Linked DNA regions of Homo sapiens: region 2 is linked to region 1. Evidence: promoter capture Hi-C in 16 types of primary human blood cells and fetal thymus (Javierre and others, 2016). All regions are on one chromosome and are shown on one strand. Each heading gives the region's core, a stretch centred on a gene start or on the middle of the fragment in contact. The rest is flanking DNA. Distances are from core to core; before and after follow the strand shown.

The links. Contacts are between HindIII fragments. The CHiCAGO score rates a contact against its expected background, and 5 or more counts as called.
Region 2: a fragment that was not itself captured here is called in contact with the fragment with the promoter of FRZB in region 1 in 1 of 17 cell types (megakaryocytes); the score reaches 5.5 in megakaryocytes.

What each region holds. Positions count from the first base shown.
Region 1 is chr2:182,865,014-182,868,514 of GRCh38, forward strand. It overlaps FRZB (frizzled related protein), which reads right to left and starts at 1,624. Exons shown (of 6, transcript NM_001463.4): 1 at 1,062-1,624. The coding sequence starts at 1,539. RefSeq lists an enhancer at 787-1,755. The HindIII fragment of the contact is 6,424 bases long and covers 1-3,501 here.
Region 2 is chr2:182,763,985-182,767,870 of GRCh38, forward strand. The region is part of intron 22 of DNAJC10 (DnaJ heat shock protein family (Hsp40) member C10); the gene reads left to right. Among named protein-coding and RNA genes, the nearest start is that of DNAJC10, 50 kb to the left of the region's middle. The HindIII fragment of the contact is 928 bases long and covers 842-1,769 here.

The sequences.
Region 1 (3,501 bases), core at 374-2,873:
TAGGTTTAGTTGGGGTCTTAAAGTTACAAATGTCATAATTAGACTAAACACTAGTGAGAAAACAACTTGTGATTGACTCCATTAAATTTAGAGCTGCAATAAAGTTTTATGGTAGGGAAAGACTGAAATGACTGTGGTTGGTGCACACACGGAAAAGGAGCATGAAATAAGGTATTAAAGACAATTTTTTTTTCAAAACATGAGAGTGGAATAAGGGGTGAGATTTAAAATAACATTACGTGAGTGTATGATAACACGCCTTAAATATAACTCCTTTCATCTGTATGCCACTTATAAAATGACTTGAAGGCATGTGGGCATGTGAAAAGAGCTCAGTAATTTCAGTCTGCCAGCTCTATGGCAAGCCACAGAAGCTAATTAACAGTGCATAGCAATGTTTCACAATTGTTTCATTCTGGAATGGAAGAACAATTTATCTCATTGAAAGGAGGGGGAAATTTAAGGTGAAGGTAATTGCTCAAACTGGATCTTGAGCAAACACATACCCCTAACATCTGTCGGTTAGAGTAAGGTTATTGAAATTATCTTGGCATTTTTAATTAGAAGAAAATGGGGCTTCAGTTTTCTGTTTCCTCCACACAATCTTAACAAGCATCTAAGACACTAAAGATACAGAAACCTGATGACTGAGATTGCCTGAGAATCAGCAAAGAAAACCCAATGATTATAAACACATTTTAAAAGAAAAAGAGCATCACTTTACAAAATGTGGCTACTTGCACATGTAAGGAGTTGAAGTGAAGGATTCCTGTGGAGTAGAAGTGTGATGGGTTTGGAATGCATGGATTGTTTTAGAAAGATCGCCTATTGGAACACAGTGCCAGAGTGCATCAGTTTGGAAGGTGATAAGGTGAGGGTTTTTTTGTTTTTGTTTTTGAAAAAAGAAGAAAGAAGAAGAAGGGTCTTTGATAGAGGAGCAGTTATGGGAGAGATTAAGTGATCCGAAGAGAAAAAAATTAGAGAGTAAAGGCTAGTAACAAGGACTCCAAGAATTGAGGAGGCTGTAGGGTAAGGGAAGGGTGGGCCGTGTCAAAACTCACCAGCTCCGTCCGCAGTAACGATGGCCTCGGGAGAGATGCACACGCCCCTGTCGTACACTGGCAGCTCCTCGCAGGCCAGGTTCTCCGGCCACGAGTGGCGGTACTTGATGAGTATGGGCTCACAGCCCTGCCGGGCCCGCTCGCACACAGACTTACAGGGCTTGATGGGCTCGTGCTGGAAGTCAATGGTGCAGATGGGCGCGTACATGGCACAGAGGAAGAAGAGCAGATCGGGGCTGCAGTGGGTGCCCAGCAGACCTTCGAACTGCTCGATGGCCAGGATGGCGTTGGCCTGAGTGCTGTGGTGCAGGTGGTTGGGCATCTTAGTCATGTTCCAGGGCAGGGACTTGCACAGGGGGATGCGGACGGGCTCACAGGCTGCAGCCCGAGCCCCGGGCACCCGGAGCAGGCAGAGAGCAGCCAGGGCAAGCAGCCCGGCCCGCAGCAGCAGCATCCCTCCCGGGCTGCCGCAGACCATGATCCCGGCAGGATGGGGCAGGGTGCAGCCGCGCAGTGGACGCCAAAAGGCCCGCTCCGCCGTCTCCGCCTCCCCCGCTGCAAGTGGACACAAGGATCTGGGAGCTTCTCCTCCCCCGGCAATCACCGCTTCCTTGGATCAAATTCCCCCAATGGGGTCCCACGAGCTTTACCGAGCTCCAGCCACCGCCCCTGCCGCCCAGGCTGCTCTTTCCCAACGTCTAAGCCTTCGGAAGCAGCAACATCTATTTATTCCTCTCCCTCTGGCAGAAGCATCAGACTTCGCAGATCAGTCAGATAAGAGGGACACGAGAGGAGGCGAGGAAGACATAAAAACAAAAGTAGAATTCAGCTGAGAGCTAGTTGGAGCTCTGGGGTGTCTCCTCCCCTAGATCACGCACACAAAAAGATGCTAAAGAAAGCATTAAATTCCCCAAAGTGAGGAGGACAGAGGGGTTGGGGGGAAGGAGGGAGGAAAAGCTCCTAATGGGAGAGAAGGGTGCAGTAAGAGTTTACAAGTCCTGTGTGGGCTAAGAGCTGCGGCCGCCGCTGCGGCTGCGACCCTGGCTGGCAGGAGGGACGCTCAGGAGGAGCCCCGCAGGGACGTCTGTGCCTCTGCCCGGGCGGCTCTGCACTTTCCTACCTCCCGCCTGAGAGGGAGCTCCGCCCCTGGGGCAGTCTCTGCCCTCCAGTGCCGGCTGCTCTTCCCGAGAATGGAGTGGGCGCCCGGGGAAGAGAAGGCCTGGGAGTCGCAGGCGGTGGGGTGCGAAGCCGTGCGAGTGCGAGACCCCAAGACAGCGCCGAGTCGAGCGCGCCCTCACACTAGGGAACCCGTCTTTGGCCCCAGAAACGAGCCCCTAGCCCCTCACTGAAGAGCCCACCCCAATTCCCTACGGAAAAGTCCCCCTAGTTCCCCACTTGGGAACCCACCCGAGACCCTCCTTCCTGGAGGTATTTCCTTTAAGCAAACTACAGCTTTTCCTCTGCAATCACTGGCTCTGCAGAAAGTCAGACCTGGTGGGGGGAAAGGCTTAAGCAATGTCACTTTGTCCAAGTAGCGGAAAACACAGACCCCTGCGAGCAACGGTGGAGCCATATCAACCCAGAGCTAGTGACTACAGAGGTCTCCATTTTCAATAACTGCGGGGGAGGAGGTGGGGGGAGGATTGCCTTTAAAAAAAAAAAAAAAGAGAGAGAGAAACAAAGAAATGCTGTTCATGACTACAAATAGGCCACCAGAAGCAAGGAAAAGGGGTTTTTTCCTTCTATTCCCGCCCCCCCCACCTAGTGGAATTAGAACTCTTGAGCTTTGCTCCTTAAGGGTTAACGTGGAAACTAACAGCTCTAATACACTTGGACTTTTTTTTTCTGATTTTGCTCACGGATAACATGGCAGATATTATTTGTTATTCTCAGCAACAATTCTGCCCGACACTTAAAAAAAAAGTGTAGGAAAACGACATCACGCAGGTAATAATGATGATTATAACAACAATCAAAACCTTTCCATCCAGATGAGTTCAATCTGGAGGAGAAAATGGAAAACAGATCCCCTCCTGGTCTGCTTCTTCCACTAATGAGCTCCCTCTTCCCCCCACCCCCGCCCCACTCTACCCTTTCAGCTTATATTGTAAATGGAATGACCTGCAGAGGCCTTCACACTATGCCCTCTCAATGGGAAATCACTGAGCAAAAGGATTGCCGAATGTCAGAAAACACAGCCTTCATTGAGAGGAGAAGGAAACAAAACCTGAAACAAAACAGGAAGTCACCTTTGCTCTGCATCACTGAAATATTTCTCTGCTTCAATTTAGCCATCTCTCACCGTCCATAACAAGCAGAGAAATATGTCCCCACTTCAGAGCACATAGTGAGATGCTCATTTTCATTCCCTAGAGTGACTTGACAGCACTTATAAAATGTCAATGCTAACTTGAGTTATGGAATTTTATATCTAAAATGA
Region 2 (3,886 bases), core at 56-2,555, 100 kb before region 1:
ACTTGTTTGTAGTTGCTGTGACTATTCTTCAAGTTGTTCAATTTACACTCAAGAGTGGAAATTTGAGAAGACAAATAGTCGTGATAAGCCCCTTGCAGATGTGCTTTCACTCTCTCCCAAGCATATTGGGAGCTATTATATGGCAGAGGTGTGACACAGAATTATATTGCCAATCACAATGTAAATTTTGACGGGTAATGAATGCCTGCTGCTGATCCCCTAGCCATTCAAAAGTGGCTTCAAGGGTCTCTAAGTGAGACAAAATAGTTTTATCAATATTTACCTATTCCTGAAATTCATGGGTTACATTATATACCATGTGGCTTATCACTGAGGCTGTGTGAATAGATTCTGTCAGAGAAGCAGTTGCAGTAGCGGCAGTTGCTAATATAATAATAGCTGAGAGTAAAAAGGCAACTGAAGTGGCCAGAAATCTTATTTTTCAAGTATGAGACAATGCTTTTCTAAATAGGTGCAGGGTGGAATCCTCTTCCTAGCTCCAAGTTAAATTTACAGGCAGCCACCATTCTGCATGCCATTTTAAGATCATGACACAGGTTATATTTAATTATGTAACGTTTTGATGAGAGAAGCATGTAGCATACCAACTACTGGAAGAGACTTTAATACTATAAAAGGATTGATTCTGCTCTATGTTAGGAACACCTTGCCGAAACAAAAGTATATAAGGGTGCATAGTACAAATCAAGACTATGTCGGTAACATTATTATGCAGAGAGAGGGTATAGTTGCCACCGCTAGTAATATACTCACCATGGGAAAGAACCCATTCAAAAAAAGGAAGTCCTAATCTCCAAATCTGGGTATGAGCATGGCTTAAAGCTTGTTTCCCTTTTACTTGTAATATTGGTCCTAAAAGCCCATACTCTGACCAGATGATAGAACTATTGGAGGGACTCCTAAATCCAATAGTCTGATCTGCAGACATAAGATTACCATGGGGACCCTAATCAAGTAAGGTGTCATTATCAAACAGAGGCTCTTGATGCAGCGCAGGCTGTTTGCATGGCGACCACTGGATGGCCTCACACTTATATCGCCAGTCCGTACTCAGACAGCATATAGGAAGATCAGGCACTTGTGTAGCTTCATTAGAGACCTCAGTAAGATTAGTGCTAACAGCAGACATAAAGGTCAAGTTTGCAAACTTAGTATCCCTTTGGGGCTGGTAATAAAGATACTCCTGAAGAATGAGAGTAACACACTTATCATGTGCTATTATGGGGAAAAAAAGGGGGATTACTAGACAATAAAATCAAGTAGTAATTAAGTTTAATCCATCCCAAATTTTCAGTTAAGGGGTAAGACAGGGGCATCTATCAACCTCCTGTCCCAAAAGTATCATTGGATGACAAAGGCAGGTCAGCATCCCACCATGTAATAACATTAAAAACGGGGATTTAAAACATGACTCCAATAAACATGTTCTTGAGCTGATCCCACTTGGCAAAGGACAAGAATTGCCAGCCACCCCAACATCCATGTTTGTCTTACTTTCTCAGAAGTTTCCCCAGTTACCACCAGATACTTAAGAAACCGATTCCATGCGGTTGCGAGGGCTTCCACAGCTGCAAGCCAAATAGATGCCTGTTGATTCAATTTCTTTAGCTGTCCCCAGGTAGTGTTAGGTGCCTTCCAAGTCATCACCTTCATTGTTGTGGTCGATTCTCTAACAACAGGTCCTGTTCTCGAAAAGAGAGCCCCATATTCCCCGTTTTTTGTTTAAGATATATATTAAGAGTTTGATAAGCTTGTTTAACAATGGCTTGACTAGTTGAGGTATAAGGAATACTAGTTTTGTGTTGTATGTGCTAAAGTTGCAATGCATATGCAAATCGAGCACTAAGCTAGCAAGGTCTATTATCAGGTTTTATAGTTTGTGGAAGGTTTAAAGTTATAATGGATTCAAATAAATGACCAATTGCATCTTTAGTTTTTTTTCTGGTCTGGGGGTAGCATGTATTAGGCCTGTGTAAGTGTACACGGTAACGTGGAGAAATTTAAAACGTTTAAAGGGTGGATACTGAGTAACATCAGTTTGCCAAATAGCATTAGGCACCAGACCTTGTAGGTTGGCACCAAGCCTTAAGGAAAAAGGGGAAAGAGAATGCTGTTGGCAATCAGGACAAGTTTTAATAATCATGCGAGCTTGAGCAAGTGTCAAATGAAACTGTTGTTTAAGAATCCAGGCGTTCTGATGAAAAAAATCATGATCAGCTGGACTCGCAAAAAAGCAGGAGAATCTGCAGACCACATCTATGGTCATACTAGAGCATCACCTTGAGCATTCTTTTCTGATAAGGGACCAGGTAGCTTAGAATGAGAGCGAATATGTATGATGTAAAGAGGGTGATGATGGGACCGAGGAGCTCTTGTGCTGGAAGAAACAAAGCTAGTAGGGGTTCATTAGTAATGCCCTTCACATGTGCAAGATTTAAATGAGTAATACTATACACCATGTAAGCAGAATCACTAACTATATTTATGTCTTGGTGAGGAAAAGTTGGTTGCATGCTGCCTTCTAGGTTTTATCTCAGATAGCTCTGGCTTTCTTGCTACCCACAGAGGCCTGGGGCAGGAGAGTTGCTAAGATGCAACTAACTTTTCCTTATACTCCAGGGAAGCAGAAAAAAGACACGGCCAGAAAGGCTGATGCTGGAAATAGGAAATGAGAACTTGCATATTAGGAAGACTGTCATAATCAGCCACTTTCCTTCCCTCCTGTAGGCACCCCTCCAGCAGGGAAGTTTGTTGAGGAGACGCAGCCACCTAATCATACAAATGTTCGCTGACCGGGGGTATAATCTAAGAACTGTCACTTGGGCGGCCTCTAATCTACTTAAGGGGGATGGGAGGTGCTGTTGCCTGAACGGGGCCAACAGATGCAGGTCCCTTTAAGGTTGGAGGAAAGAAAGGCAATGGCTTTTCTGTAGGGGGAGGAAAAGGCTCCAGTCTGTCCTTATCCTCACTAGAAAAAATATACTCCTTATGCCCTACAGAAGGGAATCAAGTAGAGAGAGGAGCACCCCCGTGCTGTTCTGGTTCCTGTTTTTCCTCACTAGAAAAAATCTCTTCCTTATTCCCCATAGAAGGGAATGAAGCGTAGAGTGGAATCTCTCCCTTTAAATCTTCCAAATTCCTTTCAGGTGGAGATAATGGGCGATCTGGTGGGTAAAGAGGATACCACGCAGAGCGTACCGGTGCCCAGGTGGCCAAAATAGTAGCGTTAATAAAATGACCTTGCTCATTTCCTCTTTTCAGGCAGTGACCTACCTGCTTCCATAACCCTAAATCTAAGGTTCCGTGATCAGGAAACCAAGGGCATTTCTGCCAAATTAAAAGCATAAGCTTGTGTAGAGCTCCAGGATCTACAGTGCACTGGATAGCCTTAAGTAGCTGTTGCACTGTTTTAAAAAATACTTTCTGTTCTTTGGTCATTTCCTGACCCATGATAACCCAACCCCTGGTATTTTATGCATGGGTCCCATCCTCCTGATGGGAGTCAGGACTGTCCCTTACTGGGATTCCTCGAAAATTGATGAGCTCTCCTCCTTCACACATAACTTCAAGGTGATCACGTCGAGGGCACCACTTGCAGAGCTTATAGCTTGCAGTGAATGCCAAGAATGAGTTCTCAGACAATTACAGCTGAGCAGGGCCGGTGAGGGGGTGGGGGGCAGCTCTTCTAAGAGAGTCCACCCCAGCATCATCCGTCCACCAAGTATTTATTGAAAGAGCTTGTTAAACCACAGATATCCACTAGATGGCTTTTTTGAGGTCTGGTCATGAGACACCTGTGGCCTTGTAAAAATGCTCAAACTGCGTTTCAGGAGGCTGTTTTCAGCATTCCTTATCATACTACACA